2 separate regions of the Homo sapiens genome follow, and region 1 is linked to region 2. The links are contacts of gene promoters, found by promoter capture Hi-C in human tissues and cell types (Jung and others, 2019). All regions are on one chromosome and are shown on one strand. Each heading gives the region's core, a stretch centred on a gene start or on the middle of the fragment in contact. The rest is flanking DNA. Distances are from core to core; before and after follow the strand shown. Region 1 overlaps MAP2K5 (mitogen-activated protein kinase kinase 5). Region 2 holds the start of SKOR1 (SKI family transcriptional corepressor 1).

Region 1 (5,770 bases), core at 1,201-3,700, 220 kb before region 2:
TAGTTTGTTATTTGCAAAGAAAAGCTATATCTACTCTAGGAAAATCATAAACATTATTTAGTTTGTTAAATGTTAATTATGGGGGTCATCTGAGGAGTTTTCTAGGGCTGATTTATTTACAGATCATGCATTAGATTACTGAGTGTGTGTGTGTATTGTCTTCCTAAGTTTGACTTTGGTTATGTGCAGTGCTCTTTGGCATTGGTTATATGCAGTACTGGAGACTGTTTTCTTATCAGTATCTCTGACCTGACCCTTTTGAGCTATGTTGTATCATTCCATTTTGACACCTTTTATCAAACTTTAATGAAATGACCCAGGCAAACAAATTGTCATTAAACTTTCCATCACTTCGTCCCTTGGTATCGTCTTTTATAAATTGGACAGCAAACGTTGTATTGATCTTCTCGTTTTTGCAGCTGAACTTGAAATGACCCAGACTGCTTGTTGTTTATGGCCCAGAGTTGCTTTTCCTTGACATTTCCATCCACAGCATGACACCCTTTTTGTTTTTCTTTCTTTCTTGTGGAGATGAATGAACAAGACATACGATATCGGGACACTCTTGGTCATGGCAACGGAGGCACAGTCTACAAGTGAGTAGTCAATTTTGTTTAAACTTTCTATCCGCTTTTCCAAATACTGAGTATCCAAGTTCTCTGTGGCAAAGATTTTTAAATGACCACTAACACTTAGATTTTATTTCCATATTTGACTCCAAAATTCTGCAAGACATCTATTTTCTCAAGAATTGCCTGGAAAGTGCATTTATATTGCCTTTTTAATATTTCCGAGTCTGCAACTCTCCTGGGTGTGTAGTTAATAGTCCACCATTAGTAAGTGTACCTTTAACTGGCCTGAAGTTTAATGCATTTTTTTCCTTTGCTTTTTAACACTATTATTATTATTTTTTAACTTGCTAGTACCCTACGCTAGTCCCCTGCCTGTTTACAGTTATGCCCAGTGGAAGCCAGACCTTATAAATACCATTGCTTTGCCCTGTGTCAACACTATAAGTTATTAAAAAGCCTTCTTCCTGTTGTATTTTCTTCTCTCCTCACCCTACTCCCCTGAGATAATTTCTACACATTGATGAATATGTTAAGTTATAAAGTTCTCCCAAATTCCAGTTGCAGTGATCTTACCCCAAAGGAATGTTCATTTTCATCTTAAAAAATGCTAGCCATAAAAAATAGTTCTCCGACAGGGAGGTCTTCTCATGCAGTAGTGCAAAGTTTAAACTACATAATGTAATATCTGGTACTTAATAGTCTGCAATGGTGTATGAAAAATATTCCACTAGGAATTAAAAAATCCATACTCTGTAAGAAAGCCCTGAGGGAATAATAAAACTTTCCTCCAGAGAGCTGGTTTTCCATGTATACACTAATCCTGCATCACATTATGGTTGTGATATTAGATCACAACCACAGATACTTTAACATTGATATTAATATGTATTTCCAGAGTTGTAAAATAATTAACTTATTTTCTAATTGGTTACCCATGTTCTTAGAATTTTAAGTTCTGACTAACCACATGAATACACATAAAAATTGCCCTATTCTATGACCATGAAGGTTCACATCCTAAAAATCCCAGAACATCCCCTACTCATTGATGCAGCCTTGGTATAGAATTTGATTTCTCAGGCTTAGAAGCTCTTTTGAAGTAATCTGATCCAGTCACCCATTCAGGGCTTCAGTGCCCTTTGCAGATACAGCCAAGATGTGAGTCCTTTCTCCTGAATATAGTCCTTTAAGAACTTATGTTCACATGTTTGGATTGTTTTTTCCTGCAGATGACTGAGTATTGTGAACAGTTGGTCTGAAAATGAAGTTCTTCCACTATGATAATTCAGAGAAATAAATAATAACATGTTTCTTACATGTTCCTTGGGCCTTGGGCCTGGCCCTTAAAATTGAGGTCCAATGTGTCTAATGATTTTTGCGGCTACTATTCTCTTTCCCTGGATCATACTAGCGTTCCTTCCCACGCAACCTCCACTATAAACGGTATCTTTTCATCTTAGTCTTCTCTTCCTTACGATCTGACTTAGATTTTTCCTGTGTTCTGAAGGTACTTAAGTTCAGGTACCCATAGAAAGGAAAGAGGAAGAAGGAACATGTATACTCTGATTTGCTTCTATTGAGTTCCCTGGAGGGAGCACTTTTCAAAGCTTGAACCTTTCTTCTTAATGCCTTTATGCTGATAGCCAAATATAATAAAACAGGAAAGATTTCTGGCAACTCTTTGTATTCCTTTTATTTGCTTCAAATGGAATTTAAAAATGTTTATTTAGACTCCTAACCTACTTATCTGTGTTATTTCACCAAACCTTTAGTTTTATATTAATTGAAGGTCTATTGTGAATTTATTTTCCTAGCTTATTTCTAGAAGGGAAGAAGCATAAGACCATGAAACCCCAGCAGAATTTTTACGAGACATAATATTCTAGATGTTGACATTTTAATCCTTTATTTTAAAACATAGGCTTGTTTGTTTGTTGGTTGGTTTGTTTATTTTGAGATGGAGTCTCGCTCTGTTGCCCAGGCTGGAGTGCAGTGGCACGATCTCAGCTCAGTGCAACCTCTGCCTCCCAGGATTCTCCTGCCTCAGCCTCCCAAGCAGTTGGGATTACAGGCGTACGCCACCATGCCCAGCTAATTTTTGTATTTTTAGTAGAGATGGGGTTTCACTATATTGGCCAGACTGGTCTCGAGCTCCTGACCTCGTGATTCACCTGCCTTGGCCTCCCAAAGTGCTGGGATTACAGGAGTGAGCCACCAGACCTGGCCAGGTTTATTTTTTAAAAGAGGGAGTATACAGAGAAGTGGAAAAAACATGCCCATCCCCCAAGGGAAAATTACAACATGAAATTATGTTAATGTTGTTTTTAAAATTGTTATTTTAAATTGTGGTGAAATACACATAACTCAAGTTAACATTTTAACCATATTTAAGTGTATAGTTAGTGGCATTAAGTACATTCACATTGTTGGCAACTGTTAACACCATTCATCCACAGAACTCTTCGTCTTGTGTAATCGAAACTCTGCACCCATTAAACAGTAACTCCCCCATCACTCTGTTAATGTTGTTTTTAGCTAAGAAGCATGGCTAGAACTTCTCCTTTAATTAGGGCTACTATGTCAAAGGGACCATTCTTCTATATGTCCTTGCCACAAGTTTTTTAATTTGCTAGAATGCTGTGTGTAACGTTAGGAATTTATCCTAAGAGCTCATTTAGCTACCGTTGCTAATGCTCACTGTGAGTGTTGTAAGATGTAATGTTTTTGACAGGATTGCTTATAGATGGTGAATGACAGTATCCTGATAATTTTCATTCTTATATAGTAGATTTCTTATAAAAAGAAATTTCATTTACCTTATTGCCTGTGTGATTCTTGAGAGGGGCGGTGAAGATACCAAATTGCATAACCGCTTGTCATTGATCATTGGGCATCATTTTTGCTCAGGCTTCAGCTTGTATTATTGTTCTTATATCCCTGGCTTTTAGTACAGTGCAAAGAAATGATATAATCATTGATAAATGAGGATCCACTTTACTAAAGTCTCTATAAAACTAAGTGTTTGATGTGTTATGATTGAGTTTCTTCTACACTAAGTTCACCTTAATGGTGTTGATGATAAAAAATATGGTTTTTCAAACAGCATGATTACATTATAGGCTATGCTACATAAACTAGATGAAGAAAATATTGGAAAATCCACTCATTGGTAACAAAACTGCCTAATAGGCTTATTCCATTTTTTTCTTTAAAGTGTAATAAAGCTAATAAGTGCAAAGCAAAAGTTTAATAATGCAGTCTTATTCACTTCACTTGATGGAATTTTGGGAATTTCAAGGGATATTATAATCGTGTAATTACAATGTATATGATTTAACAGTTGATACATTTTCCTCCTTTAAGTGTAGATATCCTTCACAGTTGTACAATATGAAATTCTGGCCCCAGACATTTAAACCAAATGGTAATGTGAATTCTGTGTGCTGTCTCCTGACGAGCTGTGCTCTATATTATGAGAGTGACTTAGGCAGGTAATTTTAAGTTGGTATTTCTTGGATTACTAATTTGGGCTACATGGAACATAAAGGAAATACCTTAAAGTATGGCCCAAGCCTAGGAAGAAGAAAAGTTTAGGAAAAGATAATGAATGTATTTTCCTTGTTGCCTCATTTCCTAAAGTGCTGCAAGTTGCTCCAAAAAAATAAATTCAGGAAAGACACATGTTCTATTTCCCTCTGAGAGATTCATAATGAATTTCAAAAACTTTGAGAAAGTAGAGAATAGTATGTGTTGTGGTTAAGTGTGAGGGCTCTAAGTTTGAATCCTGCCTCTGTCACTAATTAGCTACGTAACCTTTGGCAAGTTATATAATGTCTTATGCCTCAGTTTTCCCATCTGCAAGATGGGGATAATAATAGTATCTAGGTTGGGCGGGGTGCGGTGGCTCACGTCTGTAATCCCAGCACTTTGGGAGGCCGAGGCAGGTGGATCACGAGGTCAAGAGATTGAGACCATCCTGGCCAACATAGTGAAACCCCGACTCTACTAAAAATATAAAAATTAGCTGGGCATGGTGGTGGGCGCCTGTAGTCCCAGCTACTCGGGAGGCTGGGGCAGGAGAATAGCTTGAACCCGGGAGGTGGAGGTTGCAGTGAGCCGAGATTGTGGCACTGTACTCTAGCCTGGCAACAGAACAAGAAAAAAAAATTAATAGTATCTAGGTTGTTGTGAGGTTAAATGAGAAGATCCGTAAAAGGCTTAGCGCTATGACTGACACTTATTAAATGTTAACTACTGGTAATGGTAGTACTAATAATAGAAAAATTATTTACATTTTGTACTTCCTACCTTGACTTGGCCATGGGACTCTTTTCTTTTTTTTTTTTGAGACAGAGTCTCGCTCTGTCGCCAGGCTGGAGTGCAGTGGAAAGATCTCGTCTCACTGCAACCTCTGCCTCCCGGGTTCAAGTGATTCTCCTGCCTCAGCCTCCCTAGAGTAGCTGGGATTACAGGCATGTACCACCATGCCCAGCTAATTTTCTGTATTTTAGTAGGGATGGGGTTTCACCATGTTGGCCAGGATGGTCTGGATCTCCTGACGTCATGATCCACCTGCCTTGGCCTCCCAAAGTGCTGGGATTATAGGCGTGAATCACCACCCCCAGCCAGCCATGGGACTCTTTTTGATAAACATCTCACAGAATTATAGTTGTGTTGAACTAACTTTGAGAAATTCTGCCTTTATATTATACACATTATACTTCTGTATTTTCTTCTATTCTGTAGTTGCTTAATGAATCATGATATCTTATGTATTATCTTAAATACAATGATTTTTTAAAGTTTCAAAGTATTTTTAATCCTAATTTATTTTCAGATTGCTATAGGACAGCTGGGTTAAGCCCATTTTACCACTGAAAAAACTGGGGCTTATCATGTGGCCATTCAGCAGCAAAGCCAGATTTCTATACAGCATTTCTTTTCTTTTTGCTTGGTGTTCTTCCCCCAGGCAGTGTTGTCTCAAGGTCAAGCAGAGTCCATTTTGTTTTCTTGTGTTTTCTCATGTACCCAGCACAGTTTTAAGGATAAAATAGACCCTTGGTACGTCTTGGCTAAAATGAGAATGAGGCAAGTGGAGGTTTTAGTGGGGCTCTTTCATTGGATCTTCCTCATATCTAGCTACTTTGCGAGGCTGTACAATTGTTGTAGAACATTCACCTAGAAGAAAAAGAATATCC
Region 2 (5,999 bases), core at 3,447-5,946:
GGGGTTGGCTTCCACTGCCGGATCCTCAGTTTCCTGCCTGTAAAATGGGAATAAGTGGTTCCTATCTATTCCCAGGGCCCTTGTTGAGAATCGGCTCTGCAATCGGTAAAGTGCGGTCCGCGGTGATATTAACCCGCCGGACGCCGGCCCATAGTAGAGCCCCAGCTCCTACCCCCACGACCTGCTCCCCGGTGCCCAGCCCTGAGCAGCGGGGCTTCCCCAGCCTCTGTCCACGCGCCTTTCTCCAGCTCAGACCAGGGACAGGAGCTGGGTGGGTCTCCTGGCACTGGCCAGAGCGCGGGGAGCTGTCCGTAGCTTGGTGCTGAACGGGGACGCAGAGTCGACGCTGCACACCCCCTGGTGCGGGGCGGTACCCTTTGTCTAAGAGGTCCTGGGGGCCCCCCGCGGCCGGGCTGCTGGAAACGGAGGCGTCTTTGGCCCTCGCTGTACAACAGAGGCAGGACAGGCAGGTCCTGCTCAGGGGGACCCAGCCCATCCTCTCTTTCCTCCCACCCCCCGGCACCCTGGGGGCGTCCTGGCTCCAGGATCGTTGTCACCACCAGGCCGAATTCTGAGATGCCTTTTAAAAAATCATTAGGAGGCTAAGAATAATTACCGAACGAGATTGTAATTATGGGGTGGGGGAGCCTGGGCCGAGGGAGAGGGAATGAGCTGGCGGGGACTTGGGGGCAGCTCTCGGACTGGGAAGGAAAATAGGTTCCTGTGTTCTCCCCGGGGAAGGTGTGGGAGGAAAGACAGCGGGATAGTTGGAGCGGGACAGAGGCACAGCCTGGGAAAGACACCCGAATGGAGGGGCCAGAGGCAGAAAGAAAGGGGCCGAGCGGGTTCCAGGACTCCCCTGGGAGAAAAGGGAAAGGCAGGGAGATCCGAGACAGAAAGACCGGAACCGAGGAGGGGGAAGAGGGCAAGAACGCGATCTAAAAGAGACCCTCAGAGGAGACAGAGCCCACAAACTTGGGAGAGGTTTTCGGGGCCTAGGAGAACGGTAACCTACGTCAGCCAGGGTAGCCGGGAAGAAGGCAAAGGAGTCTGTGGGCTGGGCCTGCCCTCTCCTCAGTCCCTTCACCAGGCCTGAGCTATCGGTTCGCGCTTCCAGAGTCCCTTCCCAGGGTCTCTGCGAGCCAGGAGGGAAAGGAAGAGAGGGGAGAAGTGGAGGAAAAGGGGAGACACGCCCCAGAGGAGTTGGAACGCAGGAGGGAAAGGGGACCATACCCGGTAGCCCGAGGGAAAAACGAGGCGAGAGGGGAGAAGGCGACCCCGCGCTGCTACCCGCGGAAGATTTATGGCGCCTCCCGGGTTCCAAGGACAGGCTGCGTTCGTCGCTGCTGCCACCGCCGGTAGTCGCCGTGGCCGCTGCGCCCCCTGCCCAGGCGGCCCGTCGCGCCCCAGGCCATCCCTGCCATTATTAACTTCTGTTTGATTAGGGTAATTGTTCAAACTTGGGCCGGACAGTATGATTAATTACAGTTTAATTAACGTGTCCATTAAGGACACTTAATGCCAGGGGGGCAGGGAGGGAGGTGGTGGAAGCGGCCAACGGGGCGCCTGGGTGCGGGCTAAGAGGGGCGGGGTGCGACTAGTAACTCAAACGAAGAAGTAGAGACAGATTGAGAGAGGAAGAGAAGGGGACCCAGTGGGGCGTTAGGGGAAAGAATGGTGAAGACGGAGAGACCGACTGAGACAGGAAAGGGATGGAGAGAAACGGAGCTTTGAGGAGAGAGAGGAGGTACCCAGGGGCGTCTGTAGCATCAGAGGACTGGACCTCCCCCTTGGGGAAACTGGCTTAGCAGCGTTGAGAGCGTAGTTAACCTCAGATCACTCCCAACGATGACTTGGCTCCTGCCCTGGGCCTGTTGGTGATGGCGAAGGGAGGCATTCAAGGCCGAGGGCTCCCCAAACCTAGTTCCCAAGTCCCCTGCCCAGGGACGGAAACAGGAGAACGCCCCTCCTCAGGTTAGAGCTCTCTCTTGATACCTCCCACCGAAGTCAGGAGCATGGGAGAGGCAGATCTGCTCCTTCCCGGGTGCCATCCTCGCTGCCCTGCACCCAGGTCCCTGTCCCGGTCTCTGGTGACCCTACTGGTTCCCGAGGGCCACTCTAGGCTCCACCACCCTGGCCCTCGCCTGCGGCCGGAAAGTGAAGTACTCCTCCCTGCGCCCGTTCCTCTTGAGTCCCCCTTAGCCCCATCACCCGGTTTTGGCCCAGACCAAAACTGGCTCCTTGGCCGGGAGCACTGGGCCCTCCCCACTTCGTTCTTGGGGACAAACTTTATGGCCCCAGGGCCTTTCCTCCCTCCTGGCCTCTCCAGCTAGAGCGGGACGCAGGTGCAGGGTGCTGGACGCAGGTGTGCGGCCGCTTACCTGGGGCGTGCAGGCCTTGGGCTGCGGGGAGGCGGCGGGCGCCGCGCGTGGCCCGCGGGCGGGCGGACCCGGGGAGGGCGCTAGCGACTGCGCGGGCGGTGGGTGTGGCGCCCCGGCTCTCAGCTGTCAGGCGCGCCTGCCCCGCCACTCGGGCTGTGACCGCGCCGTCCCCGCCGCCGCGCCATGCGCTCCAGGCTTCGGCCTCTTCTTCCGGCCAGTCCCCGGCCTCGGGGTCAACGGCTCAGGGTTCGCATCTCCGCGCCCGGGGTCCCGGCGCCCCGTGCCCGCTGAGAGCGGGAGGGGCCGCGGGTGGGAGCGCGGAGAACCAGGGAGCACGGCTGTGCGCGCGCGCGGGGAGGGGCCGCGCCGTCACCCGGAGAGCCCGGCGGATCCCGGACTCCCGCCCGCCGCTCCTCCCGCCGCGCACCTCCGCTCACCGCTCGCCCGGCTCCAGCCGCCGCCGCACTGTGAGTACCCACGTCCGGTAGCCCGCCGCCCCCGCGCTCTGCTCCTGCAGCTTTTTTTTCGTTTAGTTCTGATTTGGGCTCCTGTGGCTGTTGTTTTTATGATTATACCTAAAGACACCACCGCCTCGCTCCCACCACTGCCAGTCTCCCGCTTCGCTGCCCTCCCCAAGCTCGTCCATCTAGCTCCGGGAGCCGACGGGGGTTCCTCAAGCTGCTCTGGCTGCTGCTCCTTGTCGCTGCATATGGCTCTTCGCCTGTGCTTTCCGCTTTGGCCCCCGAAATTCCGTTCCTTTCCTAGGGACCCCCTTCTTCTGACTCCGGGCCCGGACCCCCCTCCTCTCACTCAGGGAAAACCGCGCAGGGACCCAGGACCCTCAACTGGGGTACGCTCTCGGCTCGGGCGCTGTCTTCACTGTATGCGGGCCAGGCATAGTTGCCGATTTCGAGAAACCGAGAAGCTGTCATTTCCCAGCGCTGCGCGCCCTCCAGCCACCTCCAGGAGGGCGCGAGGCTTGTCAGCCGGGGAGTTAGGACAGTGTTTTTGCCTCCTACAATGATATAAAGGACTTCAACGCGAAATAAGGGTCAACTTATTTTAGTTCGATCCTCGGAGATAAAGATGAAACAGACAGATAATACATAAATAGCTTGATACTTGAAGAAGGTACAAAACAGATGAGAGAAAGAGGAACGAGCCGGCAGAGACAGCTCAGGGACAGATAAGATCGACAAATGAGGGTCTCCTAGACAAATAGAGAAGAAGGGAGAGAGACAGATAAACAGAAGATTCCAGTCTCCTTGCTGAAGGCTTTTGAACTGGGATCCCCTGTCTGGAGCTGCCCCTCTGAAAACGGAGTTACATTCAGGGCCGACTGCAGGGGAGGAGCCCTCAGGGTTGGGCTGCCCTGGCCGCAGGAGCGCCTGCAGCCTTGGGCCGGATGGGAGCCTGGCTTGTCTGAGGACATGTGGCTGGGTCAGGCGACCTAGAGGGCCCCAAACATCAGTCCCCAAGTACCCCCGCTGCTGAGGTCTGCCTGCACAGCTCCCTCCCTGCCTCAGCCAGAAAGCAAAGTGCAAGGACCAGCAGCAACTTGTGTGCCTGGAGCCTTGCAATGGCTACGAAGATGGCTGAGATTCCTTCTAGCCCATATGAGCCGGGACAGCGAGGCATGAAGGATACTCAGAGAGGTGATGCCCCTCAAAGAGGAAGCCCAGAGCCCCGAATCCTGCAGTTGGCCCGAGTGGGAAACGTATATCTGAAGGAGGAAAGCTCAAGGAGTGGGCGACTGGAAGCTAAGAAGTGGATCCCAACAAAGTTCCTTGAGAACCTCTCTGTCCCACACGTTGACCTCGGTGGAAACCAGCTTTGGTCTGGAATACAGCTAAAAATGCAGAAAATGTGGTTAGAACTGCAGGATCCTGGTCTCACTAATAGCTGGAAAGAAAACGGTTTATATATCCAGCCGAAATCTTTCTGCTCAACGAACGCGGGCGCCAGCCGTGAGAGGAGAAGCTCGGGTTTGTGGAAACTGGCAATGTTGTCCCCTGAAGCCGGCTCGGGCACCAAGCTGGGTGCGGTGGGGGCCGCGCTAGGTCCGGGTGCGCACCGAGCGCTTTGGAGAGGGTCAGGTTCAGCACCGCGAACAGCGGTAGCCTCCGCCTCTCTCCTTCCCTGGCAGACACGGTTCCCTCCTCCTTCTCCTCACCCCCCTCCTTCTCTTCACCCCCCTCTACCCCCTGCTGTCTGGAGATGGGCAGTGACCGCCCCTCCCCCCTCCCCACCCCTCCTTGCACTGCCCCCGCCCGCCCGCGTGCATGCGCGACTGAGCAGAGGGGCGGCCGATCCCCGAAGTCCGGGCTTCAGGACCCGGGCCGGCAGCACCGGCTGCGAGGGTTGCCGAAGGCGCACGGATCTGGGCGCTGAAAAAGCCAGGATTTGGCAATGGCTTTGCTGTGTGGCCTTGGGCAAGTCACTCTGCGTATCTGGGTTTCACTTCCTTCCCAATCCGAAAACGGGATTGGGTTCCTTGCAGCCCGGGCATTCCTGAGGTCTCCTTTACCCCTTCTCCTCCCCCAAGCCCCGGGGGCTGTTGTTAACGGCGCCAACATGGGTCTGAGTAACAAAAGACGCCTGTCCAGGGGGTGAATGAGTTTGGACTCCCCACTGCCAAGTATCCCCCGCGCGCCCAACTCGGAGCGCCCTGCTGGGCGGGCCCGAGCCTCGGCGGCGGCGCTGAAAATGGCTCATCTGCTCTCTGCTTTCTCTATTTCGCAGGAGCGGCGGCATGGAGGCTCTCACCACTCAGCTGGGGCCGGGGCGCGAGGGCAGTTCCTCGCCCAACTCCAAGCAGGAGCTGCAGCCGTACTCGGGCTCCAGCGCTCTCAAACCCAACCAGGTGGGCGAGACGTCGCTGTACGGGGTGCCCATTGTGTCGCTGGTCATCGACGGCCAGGAGCGCCTATGCCTGGCGCAGATCTCCAACACCCTCCTCAAGAACTACAGCTATAATGAGATCCACAACCGCCGCGTGGCCCTGGGCATCACGTGCGTGCAGTGCACGCCGGTACAGCTGGAGATTCTGCGTCGGGCCGGGGCCATGCCCATCTCGTCGCGCCGCTGCGGCATGATCACTAAGCGAGAGGCCGAACGCCTGTGCAAGTCGTTCCTGGGCGAGCACAAACCACCCAAGCTGCCCGAGAACTTCGCCTTCGATGTGGTGCACGAGTGCGCGTGGGGCTCGCGTGGTAGCTTCATCCCTGCGCGTTACAACAGCTCTCGTGCCAAGTGCATCAAGTGCGGCTACTGCAGCATGTACTTCTCGCCCAACAAGTTCATCTTCCACTCGCACCGAACACCCGACGCCAAGTACACGCAGCCCGATGCCGCCAACTTCAACTCCTGGCGTCGTCACCTCAAACTCAGTGACAAGTCGGCCACAGACGAACTGAGCCATGCTTGGGAGGACGTCAAGGCCATGTTTAATGGCGGCACGCGCAAGCGGACCTTCTCCCTACAAGGAGGCGGCGGAGGCGGTGCCAATGGCGGGTCGGGTGGGCAGGGGAAGGGTGGTGCTGGCGGCGGTGGCGGCGGTGGCCCAGGGTGCGGTGCAGAGATGGCCCCAGGCCCGCCGCCCCACAAAAGCCTGCGCTG

Evidence for each region. The method cuts DNA at HindIII sites, captures the fragments that hold promoters and counts their contacts. A contact is called where the count stands out against the background at its distance.
Region 1: a fragment that was not itself captured here is called in contact with the fragment with the promoter of SKOR1 in region 2 in 1 of the 25 tissues and cell types used here (IMR-90 fibroblasts).

What each region holds. Positions count from the first base shown.
Region 1 is chr15:67,600,154-67,605,923 of GRCh38, forward strand. It overlaps MAP2K5 (mitogen-activated protein kinase kinase 5), which reads left to right. Exons shown (of 22, transcript NM_145160.3): 8 at 532-596. Among named protein-coding and RNA genes, the nearest start is that of MAP2K5, 60 kb to the left of the region's middle. The HindIII fragment of the contact is 8,159 bases long and covers 1-5,770 here.
Region 2 is chr15:67,820,813-67,826,811 of GRCh38, forward strand. It overlaps SKOR1 (SKI family transcriptional corepressor 1), which reads left to right and starts at 4,697. Exons shown (of 9, transcript NM_001365915.1): 1 at 4,697-4,897; 2 at 5,124-5,999. The coding sequence starts at 4,791. LOC124903570 reads left to right here and starts at 2,565. Exons shown (of 4, transcript XM_047433429.1): 1 at 2,565-2,627; 2 at 3,147-3,231; 3 at 3,827-4,590; 4 at 4,701-4,772. The coding sequence starts at 2,565. The coding sequence ends at 4,772. RefSeq lists an enhancer at 5,965-5,999. The HindIII fragment of the contact is 30,837 bases long and covers 1-5,999 here.